4 separate regions of the Homo sapiens genome follow, and regions 2, 3 and 4 are each linked to region 1. Evidence: promoter capture Hi-C in 16 types of primary human blood cells and fetal thymus (Javierre and others, 2016). All regions are on one chromosome and are shown on one strand. The core of a region is centred on a gene start or on the middle of the fragment in contact, and the rest is flanking DNA. Distances in the headings are between cores, read along the strand shown.

What was found. Contacts are between HindIII fragments. The CHiCAGO score rates a contact against its expected background, and 5 or more counts as called.
Region 2: a fragment that was not itself captured here is called in contact with the fragment with the promoter of OAS3 in region 1 in 1 of 17 cell types (M1 macrophages); the score reaches 5.0 in M1 macrophages.
Region 3: a fragment that was not itself captured here is called in contact with the fragment with the promoter of OAS3 in region 1 in 1 of 17 cell types (naive CD4 T cells); the score reaches 5.3 in naive CD4 T cells.
Region 4: a contact is called between a fragment that was not itself captured here and the fragment with the promoter of OAS3 in region 1, in 2 of 17 cell types (naive B cells and activated CD4 T cells). The highest score is 5.3, in naive B cells.

The regions. Positions count from the first base shown.
Region 1 is chr12:112,936,694-112,939,935 of GRCh38, forward strand. It overlaps OAS3 (2'-5'-oligoadenylate synthetase 3), which reads left to right and starts at 1,781. Exons shown (of 16, transcript NM_006187.4): 1 at 1,781-2,014. The coding sequence starts at 1,838. RefSeq lists enhancers at 1,400-1,569, 1,464-1,773, 1,737-1,906, 2,330-2,499 and a silencer at 1,994-2,083. The HindIII fragment of the contact is 11,275 bases long and covers 1-3,242 here.
Region 2 is chr12:112,456,913-112,460,154 of GRCh38, forward strand. The region is part of intron 6 of PTPN11 (protein tyrosine phosphatase non-receptor type 11); the gene reads left to right. LOC124903023 (a long non-coding RNA gene) reads right to left here. Exons shown (of 3, transcript XR_007063466.1): 3 at 838-992. Among named protein-coding and RNA genes, the nearest start is that of PTPN11, 40 kb to the left of the region's middle. The HindIII fragment of the contact is 3,793 bases long and covers 1-3,242 here.
Region 3 is chr12:113,330,758-113,333,999 of GRCh38, forward strand. It overlaps SLC8B1 (solute carrier family 8 member B1), which reads right to left. Exons shown (of 16, transcript NM_001358345.2): 2 at 1,966-2,203. The coding sequence starts at 2,121. Among named protein-coding and RNA genes, the nearest start is that of SLC8B1, 2.7 kb to the right of the region's middle. The HindIII fragment of the contact is 1,455 bases long and covers 1,266-2,720 here.
Region 4 is chr12:113,236,576-113,239,817 of GRCh38, forward strand. The region is part of intron 2 of TPCN1 (two pore segment channel 1); the gene reads left to right. Among named protein-coding and RNA genes, the nearest start is that of TPCN1, 17 kb to the left of the region's middle. The HindIII fragment of the contact is 2,975 bases long and covers 230-3,204 here.

The DNA of each region.
Region 1 (3,242 bases), core at 531-3,030:
TCATCCAGTCTCATATCTCTGACAGGGATCTCAGATTCCAGTTTACCTGGGACACCTCTGGTTAGGACCCAGCAACATTATTAAAGTTTTTCTATCGCTTTCCTGCCACCTCTAGAGGCCTGGGATGGACGTTGAAGGCTTATGCATATGTTCAGTCCACCATCATGACCCAATATTGACCCTTCTGCGTTCCATCTTCTAAAAATGCCTCAAATGTCCCGCCCCCTTGACTCCACTTTTTCTCAGTTTCCAACCCTGTTGATTTCCATTATGCTTTTAATATATCTTTGCTGCTATTTTAATAGAATTTTGAGCATGTGTTCAATCCACTATCTTGAATGGAAAGTTTCTAAAGTGGCCTGTGACTCAGGAAGAAGACTGTGATTAATGGGCGAGAATGAAAATCATTGCTCAATCCCTTGACTTAAATCCCCACCACAACACCTGACCTACAAAACCTGCCCATACTTGAATATTCCAAGTGATGCAGCATTCACTACTCAAAATATTAGCTGGTGTACATATTACAGACCCAGCATCTCTCCCTCTAGTTGACCATGACCTCTGAAATTCACACTCTGATCCTATCTATTTCCTTTCAGTTACCGTGCAGATGTCAGGAAGCACTTGTTAAGACTATTACCTGAAGTGTACTCAGAGGCAGAGTAAATGCTGGGTCCCGGAGCAGACAGGAGAGAGGACCTGGGAGTTTTTTAGTAAGATGGGGAGGAGGAGATAGGCTATGGCTTGGACCAGGCCTGGAAGAGAGCTCAGGTGTGCAGTCTCTAGGAACCCGGGTGGAGAAGCAGCAGGAAATAAGCAGAAAAAGGAGACAGGCCATGAAGATAGAAGCGCAATGGTCCTGGATTCAAATCTCCACTCTGCAGCTTATAGCTTACAGTCCGCTTAGCTTTGTGCCCATTCCAAGAGGATTTCCCTATTGTAGCTTTACAATGTTTTAATATGTAGTATTGTTGTGCAAGGTACCATCCTAAACTGACTGACTTTCCTTCCTCCTTCTCCTCCAAAATAATTTTTAATTCTTGCAGACAGACTTTAGATCGTGTGTTTGAAGTTTTTAAAGATGGAATTTTTATTGGAACTGCATTACACGTATAAATTATTTAGGAAGAGTTGGCTTCTGAAGAGGGCAGCTCTGTGGGCTTGGGCTGGGTTTGAATCCAGCCAGACAACTTTCCAGCTGTGTTACCTTGGACAGTTACCTAGTTCCTCTGTACCTTGACTTCCTCATCTGTCAAATGGGTGATGATAATAGCACCTACACCATGGTCGTTGGGAGGAGTCAGTGAGAGTCTCCAAGTGTGCTTTATTATCGTTGGTGGTGGTAGTGGTGTTTAGAACGCATCCCTCAGTCAGACAGCGAGGTAGGACTTCTCCGTTTATTAAATCCTGACCTTTTTTTTCCATGTAAAACCTGCACGTTTCTGAAATGCTCAGAGTACGTTACTCAGTATGTACCCATATGTTCTGTGGGTATACTTTGTTAGGTTGTGATTAGTTCGTTGGAGCTGGTGGTTGCAGGGACGGCTGGAAGCAAGGAGATGAAGGAGAGGAAGTCGTAGCTGGGAAGGGGACCAGGAAGTGGGTGTCAGGTCCAAGAGCTGCTAGAAAGAAACGAAACTGAAAGCAGGGAATTTCCCAAGTTTGGGGAAGACAGGAACTGCAGCGCCCCTCCCCGTTTCACGCCACGCGCGGGACCGAGGACCTAGGACCTGGCCAGCTGGGCGTGGTTCGGAGAGCCGGGCGGGAAAACGAAACCAGAAATCCGAAGGCCGCGCCAGAGCCCTGCTTCCCCTTGCACCTGCGCCGGGCGGCCATGGACTTGTACAGCACCCCGGCCGCTGCGCTGGACAGGTTCGTGGCCAGAAGGCTGCAGCCGCGGAAGGAGTTCGTAGAGAAGGCGCGGCGCGCTCTGGGCGCCCTGGCCGCTGCCCTGAGGGAGCGCGGGGGCCGCCTCGGTGCTGCTGCCCCGCGGGTGCTGAAAACTGTCAAGGTGAGGTCCCACCTCGGGGTCTTTATGTGTCCAAAGGGGAGTCCTGGGAGGACGCTTAAGCCTCACATAGGCTTACGGTGGGGGTGGCTTTATCCGCTTGTGCACCTCATTCATTTCTTTAACAAATACTTCCAATGTGCCAGCCCCGTGCTAACTCCCCCGAACATACGAGCCAGGTAGGTACTCTTAAGCCCGCTTGACAGATAGAGAAAATGAGGCACAGAGAGGTACAGTGACGTGTCCGATCCTGTAAGAGGCCCAGCCAGGATTCAAATCCAAGTAGCCTGATTCCTGCATCTCTACTCTCAGAGGCTGCTTCTTATCCATTCATTCACTCATTCACTCATTCTCCCAGTCATTCAAACAGACTGTGGGCCTCACACTATGCCAGACCTTAAGGTTACAGAAGTAATAACACTCCGCGTAACAGCCAGAGTAGCCCAATTTATTGAGACATTATCAAATAACAATGAAAATTATCTCATTAAATGAGTATTACCTCATTTCATCCCCACGTTCAGTGAGGCAGGTATTATTGTACCTGTTTTATGGATAGGGAAACTGAGGCTAGACGCTAAATTACTACTCTGAGTCACATCTTTTTTTTTTTTTTTTTTTTTTTTTTTTTTTGAGACAGGGTCTCGCTCTGTCACCCAGGCTGGAGTGCAGTAGCATGATCTTGGCTCACAGCAACCTCCGCCTCCTGGGCTCAAGTTATTCTCACACCTCAGCCTCCCAAGTAGCTGGCACTACAGGTGCACACTACCATGCCTGGCTAATTATTTGCATTTTTTGTAGAGATAGAGTTTTGCCGTGTTGCCCAGGCTGGCCTGGAACTCCTGGGCTCAAGTGATCCACTTGCCTTGGCCTTTCAAAGTGCTGGGATTACAGGTGTGAGCCACCATGCCCAGGTAATTTTTGCATTTTTTGTAGAGACGGGATTTCACCATGTTGCCCAGGCTCCGGGTCACTTTTTGTCACTTAAATACAGCCACACTGCCACTGTGATCCCAGGACACTCGCAGATTCAGGGAGGAGACAAGTCATGAGCTACCTTATCCTCAGGGTAGATTTGGGGGTGCCAGGAGTGGATTGATGGAGGGAACCTGGGTGTGCTAGAGGAGGTTGTCAGGAGAGGGAGTGAAAACGCAGAGTAGAAATGGCCTCAGAGCACCTAGTGGTTTCCTGGGGCTGACTCTCAGCTTGGGAGGTGGGGAAGGAGGAGACA
Region 2 (3,242 bases), core at 446-2,945, 480 kb before region 1:
CTGATTTCTTTTTTTTTTAAATTATTTTTGTTGATTATACTTTAAGTTCTGGGATATATGTGCAGAACGTGCAGGTTTGTACATAGGTATACATGTGCCATCATGGTTTGCTGCACACATTAACCCATCATTTAGGTTTTAAGTCCTGCATGCATTAGGTGTTTGTCCTAATGCTCTCCCTCCCCTTTAATGCATCAGTGAAAAAGTGATGATAGGCTGGGCGTGGTGGCTCACTCCTGTAATCTCAGCACTTTGAGAGGGTGAGGCAGGTGGACCACTTGAATCCAGGAGTTTGCCCCCATCCCCAGACAGTGTGTGTGATGTTCCCCTCCCTGTGTCCATGTGTTCTCATTGTTTGGTTTTCTGTTCCTGTGTTAGTTTGCTGAGAATGATGGTTTCCAGCTTCATCCATGACCCTGCAAAGGACATGAACTCATTCTTTTTTTATGGCTGCATAGTATTCCATGGTGTGTATGTGCCACATTTTCTTTATCCGGTCTATCATTGATGGGCATTTGGGTTGGTTCCAAGTCTTTGCTATTGTAAATAGTGCTGCAATAAACATATGTGTGCATATGTCTTTATAGTAGAATGTTTTATAATCCTTTGGGTATATACCCAGTAATGGGATTGCTGGGTCAAATGGTATTTCTGGTTCTAGATCCTTGAGGAGTCACCACACTGTCTTCCACAATGGTTCAACTAATTTACACTCCCACCAACAGTGTAAAAGCATTCCTATTTCTCCACATCTTCTCCAGCATCTGTTGTTTCCTGACTTTAAGTGAACTGATCTCTTTCCTGAAACTAACTTGGGTTGGAGAATGTCCCTGATGGGAATGTGCTGTGTTCCCATTGCACTCTTCTATATCACTTACCCATTGACAATGTGATCTCTTTCATTTTCTCCTCATCCATTTGACAGAAAACTTCAAAAACAAGGATTCTGGCATATTTACCTTTGCAGTTGTCCCCAGCATGTAGCACGGTGCCTAGTACACAGAAGAAACTCCATAAATGTTTGTTGAATGAGATTTACATTTAACTCATGTTTACATCATTTTATTTTCCTGTTCTGTTTTATGGGAATGATTATTCTATGCTTTTTGAGGACTACAATTTATAAATATTTGTGGATTGAATGAATAAGTGAATACTGGGCAAATAAAGTCCTTTTAGCCAGAGTATGTCTGAACAACTTGCTGAGATAGATATGATTTCCCATTTTCCAGCTGAGGGGCCTAAGGGAGGTTAAGTAAATTATTCAATCTTCATACCACAGTTTTTGTTTTGTTTTGTTTTGTTTTTTTTCCTCCTGAGACAGAGTCTCACTTTGCTGCCATACTGGAGTACAGTGGTGCAATCATAGCTCACTGCAGCGTCCAACTTCTGGGCTCACGCCATCCTCCCACCTCAGCCTCCTGAGTAGCTGGTACTACAGGTGTGCACCACCATAGCCGGCTAATTTTTCATTTTTTGTAGATATGGGGTCTCACTGTGTTACTCAGGTTGGTCTTGAACTTCTGAGCTCAAACAATTCTCCTGTCTTGGCCTCTCAAAGTGTTGGGATTACAGGTGTGAGCCACTGTGCCCGGCCCATACCACAGATATTGATTGAATTCCAGCAGTGGGGAGGAGTGTGGAATAGAACATTCTCAGTCCTTGCTCAACATTACTGAACAGAGACTTGAATTTGAGTTTATTCTCTCATCCCAGGCTTCGCGTTAGGCTCTGAAGACACTAGTGAACAAGACAGACAGGGTTACTGCCTTTAAAGGGAGCTTTTAGTTGAGAGAAGGAAAACAGTGATGAAAAGCATCAGTGAAAAAGTGATGATAGGCTGGGGCGTAGTGGCTACTCCTGTAATCTCAGCACTTTTAGAGGGTGAGGCAGGCAGCTCACTTGATTCCAGGAGTTTGAGACCAGGCTGGGCAACATGGTAAAACCCCGTCTCTACAAAAAATACAAAAAGTAGCTGGGTGTGGGGGTGCGCACCCACAGTCCCAGCTACTCTGGGGGTTGAGGTGGGAGGATTGCTCGAGCCTGGGAGATTGAGGCTGCAGTGAGCTGAGATCACGTCACTGCTCTCCAGCCTGAGCAACAGAGCCAGAACCTGTCCCAAAAAAAAAAAAAATTGATGATAAACATAGTGAGACAGAATTTTGAAATCTCAGCCTCACTGTTGCCTTCCTTGTCCCCTGCCTGCCTAAATAATAAAAGGCAGCATTTCAGCAGTCATTCATTTCATTACTTTCACTTCATTTCACCTTCATAAAGCCTCATGAGGTAAGATGGGAAGATACAGAAGTTTTAGAAACCGCTCATCAAAATTGAATGGAAAGCCGATTGTTCCAAAACTTTTTAGTGTGGAAAATTTCTATTATATGCAAAAGTAGAGAGAATGGGATAGTTATAGCAGTATACCTGACACCCAGCATTAACAACTGTTGATAATATGGCCAATCTTTTTCGACTCTGCCCCACTCACTTCCCCAGCCCTGACTTGTCTTGAAGCAAATACTTTTTTTTTTTTTTTGAGATAGAGTTTTGTTTTGTTTTGTTTTTTGTTTTTGAGATGGAGTCTCACTCTGTCCCCCAAGCTGGAGTGCTGTGGCTTGATCTTGGCTCACTACAACCTCCGCCTCCTGGGTTCAAGTGATTCTTGTGCCTCAGCCTCCTGAGTAACTGGGATTACAGGTGTGTACCACCATGCCCAGCTAATTTTTGTATTTTTAGTAGGGACAGGGTTTTCACTATGTTGGCCACGCTGGTCTCAAACTCCTGACCTCAGGTGATCCGCCTGACTTGGCCTCCGAAAGTGCTGGGATTGTAGGTGTGAGCCACTGCTCCCGGCCTTGAAGCAAATCTTAACACATCATTTCGTCTGTAACTATTTTATTTCAAAAAATTATAACCTGAATAGCATTATCATATCTAAAACTATTAACAGTATTTCCTTAATATTAACACATATCAGTCACATTTTCCTGATTGCTACACACACACACACACACACACACACACACACACTTGCAATTTGTGTTTTTTTCTTTTTAGATGGATCTCACTCTGTTGCCCAGGCTGGAGTGCAATGGTGCATTCTCAGCTCACTGCAACCTCCACCTCCTGGGCTCAACTGATTCTCTTGCCTCAGCCTCCTGAGTAGCTGGGACTACAGGTGCCCACCACCTCACCTGGCTAGTTTTTGTATTTTTAGTAGAGGTGGGGTTTCACCATGTTGG
Region 3 (3,242 bases), core at 743-3,242, 390 kb after region 1:
GCCTCATAAAGTTGCTGTGGGCATTGAATGCTCTCAGCCCATCAGTTTGAGTTTGGGATTCCTGCTGAAGAAATGGTGAGAACTCCAGTCCCTGGCAGCTACAGGGCACTCCAGGGGGTCATCTTGAGCAGTCCTCTGCTTTTGTTCCTTCACTCCAGATCTGCTGTGACCTCCTCTTCTCCCCTTACAGACATCAGAGCGGAAAGATGCAAGTTCTCTGTAGCCTGTCTCAACAGGCTGTGCCCTCCCTGCCCTGGGAGGAAGGCCTCTTGCCTCTAACTCCAGCGTCGTCATTGGTCCTCCCTCAGTGCTCCCCATTCAAATCACAGCACCAGCACACCCTCAGCTGATCAGGCCAGGAACCTGGAGCCATCCACAACTCCTCTCTTTCTCCCACCACTGGGAGAAAGAGAGAGGGTGGGAGTTCAATACCAGCCTGGCCAACATGGTGAAACCCTGTTTCTACTAAAAATACAAAAAAATTAGCCAGGTGTGGTGGTGTGCACCTGTAATCCCAACTACTCGGGAGGCTGTGCATAAGAATCGCTTGAACCCGGGAGGTGGAGGTTGCAGTGAGCTGAGATCGTGCCATTGCACTCCAGCCTGGGTATAGAGTGAGACTGTTCTCGAAAAAAAAAAAAAAAAAAAAAATTGAGTCAGTGGACTGGGAAAAGCAGACCCACCCTCAATCTGGGTGGGTGCAATCTAATCAGCTACCAGCACAGCCAGAATAAAAGCAGGCAGAAGAATGTGGAAAGACTAGACTGGCTTGGTCTTCTGGCCTGCATCTTTCTCCCATGCTGGATGCTTCCTGCCCTCAAACATCAGACTCCAAGTTCTTCAGCTTTGGGACTCTTGGACCTTCAGCCACAGACTAAAGGCTGCACTGTCAGCTTCCCTGCTTTTGAGGTTTTGGGACTCAGACTGACCTCCTCGCTCTTCAGCTTGCAGATGACCTATTGCGGGACCTCACCTGTGATCATGTGAGTCAATATTCCTTTAAAAACTCCCCTTTACATATACATCTATCCTATTAGTTCTGTCCCACTAGAGAACTCCGACTAACACAGATTTTGGGACCCTCTGCTTAAAACCTTCCATTGGCTCCCCACTATCGCAAAACAATTCTCACCTCCTAGCCGCAGCCTGTAAGGCCTTTTGTAATCTGCCCGCCATTACCTCTCCATCCTCCTCTCTTAGCATTCTTCCCCTCACTTGCTCTGTTCCATCCATTCTAGCCTCCCTGCTGTTACGGGAACACACTAAGCTTGTTCCTGCTCCAGAATCTTTGTACTTGCTGTTCCCTTTGCCCAGAATGCTCTTCCCCGGGGTGTCAATGTAGGTGGTTTCCTCTCTCCATTCGCTGGCTTGCCTCAAATATCACCCCCTCACAGAAGCCATCTGTGACCACCCAATCTGAAATAGTTGGAAAAGCTCACGCCCTCCCCCATACCACTTTAGCTATTGTGTGCGGGGCACTTAGCACATCGCCACCTGAAATGTATATGCTTACTTCTCTTTTTTTTGTTGTTGAGACAGAGTCTTGCTTCGCCGCCCAGGCTGGAGTGCAGTGGTACAATCCTGGCTCACTGCAACATCCACCTCACGGTTTCAAGCAATTCTCCTGCCTCAGGGTTCTGATGATTACAGGCACCTGCCACCATGCCCAGCTAATTTTTGTATTTTTAGTAGATACGGGGTTTTGACACGATGGCCAGGCTGGTCTCCAGCTCCTGGCCTCAAGTGATCCTCCTGCCTTGGCCTCCCAAAGTGTATAAGTTTACTTCTTGATCTGTCTGTTCAGGAGACTGTCAGCTTCTTGAGAGTAGTGAATTTTGTCTCTATTGTTCCCCGGTATATCCCAGGCTGCGGTCAGTGCCTGGCACATAGTAGATGCTCAATAGATATTTATCGATTGGAGGAACACAGCCCCACTCAACCCCAGGTTCCTACCGGGATACTCACGTCTACCACGGGGGTCTGGTTCACACCTGAAGCTGGAAACTGGGGGCTAATGTGAGCTCCTGTAGACGAGCCCCTAGTCCCAGACACTGTCTCCGCCATTAGCAGCACACAAAGCACACTCAGTGCCCAGCGCAGATTCAGCCTTCTGCCGGCCATCTGCCCCCACGGGGCCTGGCCCTTACTCTCCACTTCCCTTTCTGCAGTAGCTCAGTTCCAAACAGCTGGCGGCTCCGGTGGCCTGCAAGGTGGGAGTGAGAAAGGGGGACAACATTACTGAAAACCCATGGACACAGCAAAAGGGGCTGGAAGACTCTAGTTAAGGAACTGCCTTCCTGCCTCCCGGCAGCAAAGTTAAGCTGACGGAGAAACCATGTTCTGCACAGTCTCGCTGGAGGGGCCCAAGGCCCTGCCCATTCAGCGTGCAGATCAGATACGCCCTTCTTCCTGAGAACCCATGAAAACCTACCCAGTCCCACCTGGCCCCCAGCCTGAGGCCAGAATGCCAGGGCTGCAAGGGACTTGGGACTTGAGCCAAGATTCAGAGTCTCAGGCTTCTGGGGCAGGTGGGTGAGATACATGTGGGAAGTGGGCAGTGGGCGGGATTGCAGAAGCCCTCAAAACAAAACAAAACAAACTCTACTTCTAGGGGTGGACTTGGCCTCTGGGCCACCAGTTTGAGACGTAGAGAGGCTTGCCCACCACATTTTACAGAGCCCACTAAGCAATGCTGTTGTTCTGTGTCTTACAAGGAGCCAAGCTTTACATGGATGACCTCATTCTATCCTCACGACATGCCGAGCGGGGGTAGCACTAGCATTCCATTTTACAGATGAACTAACTGAGGCACAGACAGGTGAAGCCAGGCTTGTTTCCCCCCTGCATCACGCCTCCCTCATGCAGTCCTCAGAACAATTCTGGAAATGTCACCCCCCCGCCCCCCACCCCACCCTGCACAGCAGGGAGAGGGGCTCAGAGGAGTGTTTTTTGTTTTTTGTTTGTTTCTTCAGATGGAGTCTCACTCTGTTACCCAAGCTGGAGTGCAGTGGCGCGATCTCAGCTCACTGCAACCTCTGCCTCCCGGGTTCAAGTGATTCTCCTGCCTCAGCCTCCCGAGTAGCTGGGATTACAGGCACACACCACCATGCCCAGCTAATTTTTGTATTTTTAACGGAGACGGGGTTTCGCCATGTTGGCCAGGCTGGTCTGGAACTCCTAGCCTCAAGTGATCTGCCGGCCTTGACCTCTCAAAGTGCTGGGACTACAGGCGTGAGCCACCA
Region 4 (3,242 bases), core at 467-2,966, 300 kb after region 1:
ACTCCAGCCTGCCTGGGTGACAGAGCAAGACCCTGTCTCAAAAAGAAAAAAAAAAAAAGAAGTAGGAACTCTTCTGAGACCCACACCCTGGACGGGGCCAGAGACTAGCATGCTGGGGGCAGATTGGATTTGGGTGTGGTTACATGCACTCTGGGGTCAGACCCACTGAGTTTGAATCCAGCCCTGACTTCTCCTGCTGGGACTTTGGGCAGATGATGTAACCTCTCTAAGCTTTGATTTCCTCATCCGTAAAATGACACTAATATTAGTATTACCTTTTAGGACTGTTCTGAGGTTTATACAAGATAGCATGCCTCACACAACTAGCACAGTGCCTGGCTTATACAGAATGAGCATTGGGTGGATGTCAGCCATTATAATTAGGGTCAGGGGTCAGAGCAGGCATATCTGTTTTACAGAGTGCCTAAAATGCTGATGGCAGGAGTTTGGACCTGGTTGAGTTGGGCATGGGAGCTGCTAAATGTGTTTGGGCCAGAAAGCAAGTGATGACAGAGCATCTTCCTGCTGACATCTTGCCAGCTCGGGATGCTGTCTCTAGCCAACTTGATAAGCCCTGAGCTTAGAAACCCTGGGGTGGGTCAGCCCTGAATAGGGGTTACTTTTCCCTCTGGAGATTGAGAGGTGGATGGAGAGGAAACTGCCAGGCTATTCTGCAGTAGTAGGAGCCGGATTTGGCATTTTTCTCTCTGTGTCTGTCTCCCTGACCAGTCACTGAACTTCCCCAGGTCCCAGAAGCTCAGCTCAGTAGCTCAGTTCCTACTTCTTTTTTTTTTTTCTTGAGTTAGAGTCTTGCTCTGTTGCCCAGGCTGCAGTGCAGTGGCACAGTCTCGGCTCACTGCAACCTCCGCCTTCCGGGTTCAAGCAATTCTAGTGCCCCAGCCTCCCCAGTAGCTGGGATTACAGGTGTGCACCACCGCACCCTGTTAATTTTTTTGTATTTTTAGTAGAGACGGGGTTTCACCACATTGGCCAGGCTGGTCTCAAACTCCTGACCTCAAGTGATCTGCCCACCTCGGCCTCCCAAGGTGCTGGGATTACAGGCGTGAGCCACCATGCCTGGCCAGTCCCTACTTCTTAAGAGGCACTCAGGAAGCATCTGGACAATGCTGAACAGATGAGGACTTTCATAGGCTCACCTGGCCTGGGGTCTGGCCCAGGAGGGTGCTCTTTGATGAGAAACATCCCAGCGGTATTGGGCATGGAGGAAGCAGCTAGTGAAAGAAAAGCAGAGCTGATGGGAGGAAGATGTTTGACTGTGCCCAGCCCTGCCACATATCTCCCACTTTGCCCTCCCTAATCCCACCACACCCAGCTCTTAGGATCAGAAAGTACGTTGAAGTTCCAGGGCCACTCTCCTGAATAAAAAGTGTGGCTTCTGTTTCCGGCAGATAAGTTCCTGCTTTGTTCCAGTGCACTGACACAGTCCCCTGAACAACCCATCTTGGGTTGATCAGGAAGTTCTTAGTCTGTTCAGATGGCAGCCTACCTCTCATTTTATCATCCTCCTTCACGATAAAGCCCTGATGTTCTGCCTTTCCCACTTAGTGGAGAAACCTATCCTCATAGCCACACTTCCGGTATTGAGGAATTGGCATCTTGGAATACAGCTTGGGTATTTGGATGACAAATTATTAAAAATATTCTGATCTCTTTGCCCACATATTTTAGCTGTAGAAGCAAGCAGAGAGCATCATGTTACTGCAGCAGCAGTGCCGCTTATTTTTTTTCCTTAAAAAACATGATTTAGGGGTCCTAGTTTTGGTGGCTTCCTGCTTCAGCAGCATTTGGAAGACTTGCAGATATGTCCTGTGAGTGCCACGTGGGTGTGACCCCTGCTCCTTGGCCTGGCAACAATCCAGTAGCTGTATATTAGAGTGTCCTTTTTGCTACCTTAAATGACCAAGTCTTCCCCAGAGCCATTCTTGCTATCTCTTGCTATCCACCTGCCTCGGCCTCCCAAAGTGCTGAGATTACAGGCATGAGCCACCACTCCTGGCCCTTCCTGTTTATTTAGCTGAAGGCCTTGAGAGCCTTCCCTAACCTTTGAGGATAGTGGTTGTGTTTCCACAGTCTCTCATTCTCCAGGTATGCTGTTTATACCTCTTTCTCTGCTCTTCACGGCACAGAGACCCACTCGCTCCCCAGCACCGGGATGTGATCGATTTGATGATTGAATCAGAGTTTGCTTTGTGCCATGATGGATTGTGAGAAAATGGAGTTTTGATGAATTAGGTAATTTAAAATACGGGTGGGAGCCAGGCGCAGTGGTTCACCCTGTAATCTTAGCACTTTGGGAGACCAAGGCGAGAGGATCACTTGAGGCCAGGAATTTGAGACCAGCTTGGACAACATAGTGAGACCCCATTTCTAAAAAGAAGTTAAAAAAAGTTAGCCAGGTGTGGTGGTGCACACCTGTAGTCTCAGCTCCTTGAGAGGCTGAGGCATGAGGATTGCTTGAGCCCAGGAGTCTGAGACTGCAGTGAGCCATGATCACACTACTGCACTCGAGCCTGGGCATAGAGTAAGACCCTGTCTCTAGAAATACATATATACATATATATTTCAAAATAAAATATAGGTGGGAGGGCTAAGTTTGGCAAAGAATCCTTTCGTAGTATGAATAATACCCATTCTGTTCATCCAGCATCAAGCAGGGTTTTGTGAATCCTGCTCCCCCCAGCTAGGGCTTACCTGGTTTGTGAGTTTCTTTCTTGTGTCTCCCTGATGCCTGTTTGAGATGACTGGGCAGGGCAGGGCAGGAAGGTAGAGGCCTAACCCAGTGTAATGCCTGGGTGTTAATGGCTGTTGTTTTAGGTGCTGATGTTTTACACAGCTGTGCCTCTTTCTGGTAGTACAAGTTTTGCAAAGGCAGGGATCATGTCTCTTCTACACATATTCTGGGCACAATAATAGACATAATAGAAGTTGCATATCTGGGAGTGAGTCACCGGTTTCCAAAAACATCCAGGGTCCCAGGTGACTGTCACAGCTAAACCAGCCCCTGGAGCCACTGGAGGGTGACAAGGAGACTCATTCACATGTGATCAGACCAGAAGTAGCCCAGCAGGGCATGGCGTTGCTGCCCCTAGGAACAGCCTACTTTTTGGATGTTTGGGTCTCTGCTTCCAGCTTCGAACTCCCCAGGAGCCCACACATGTCCAATCCCAACCTTCCTTCCATCTAAGCTTCCCCGTCGCCGCCCTACCATTTGTAGACTGCCT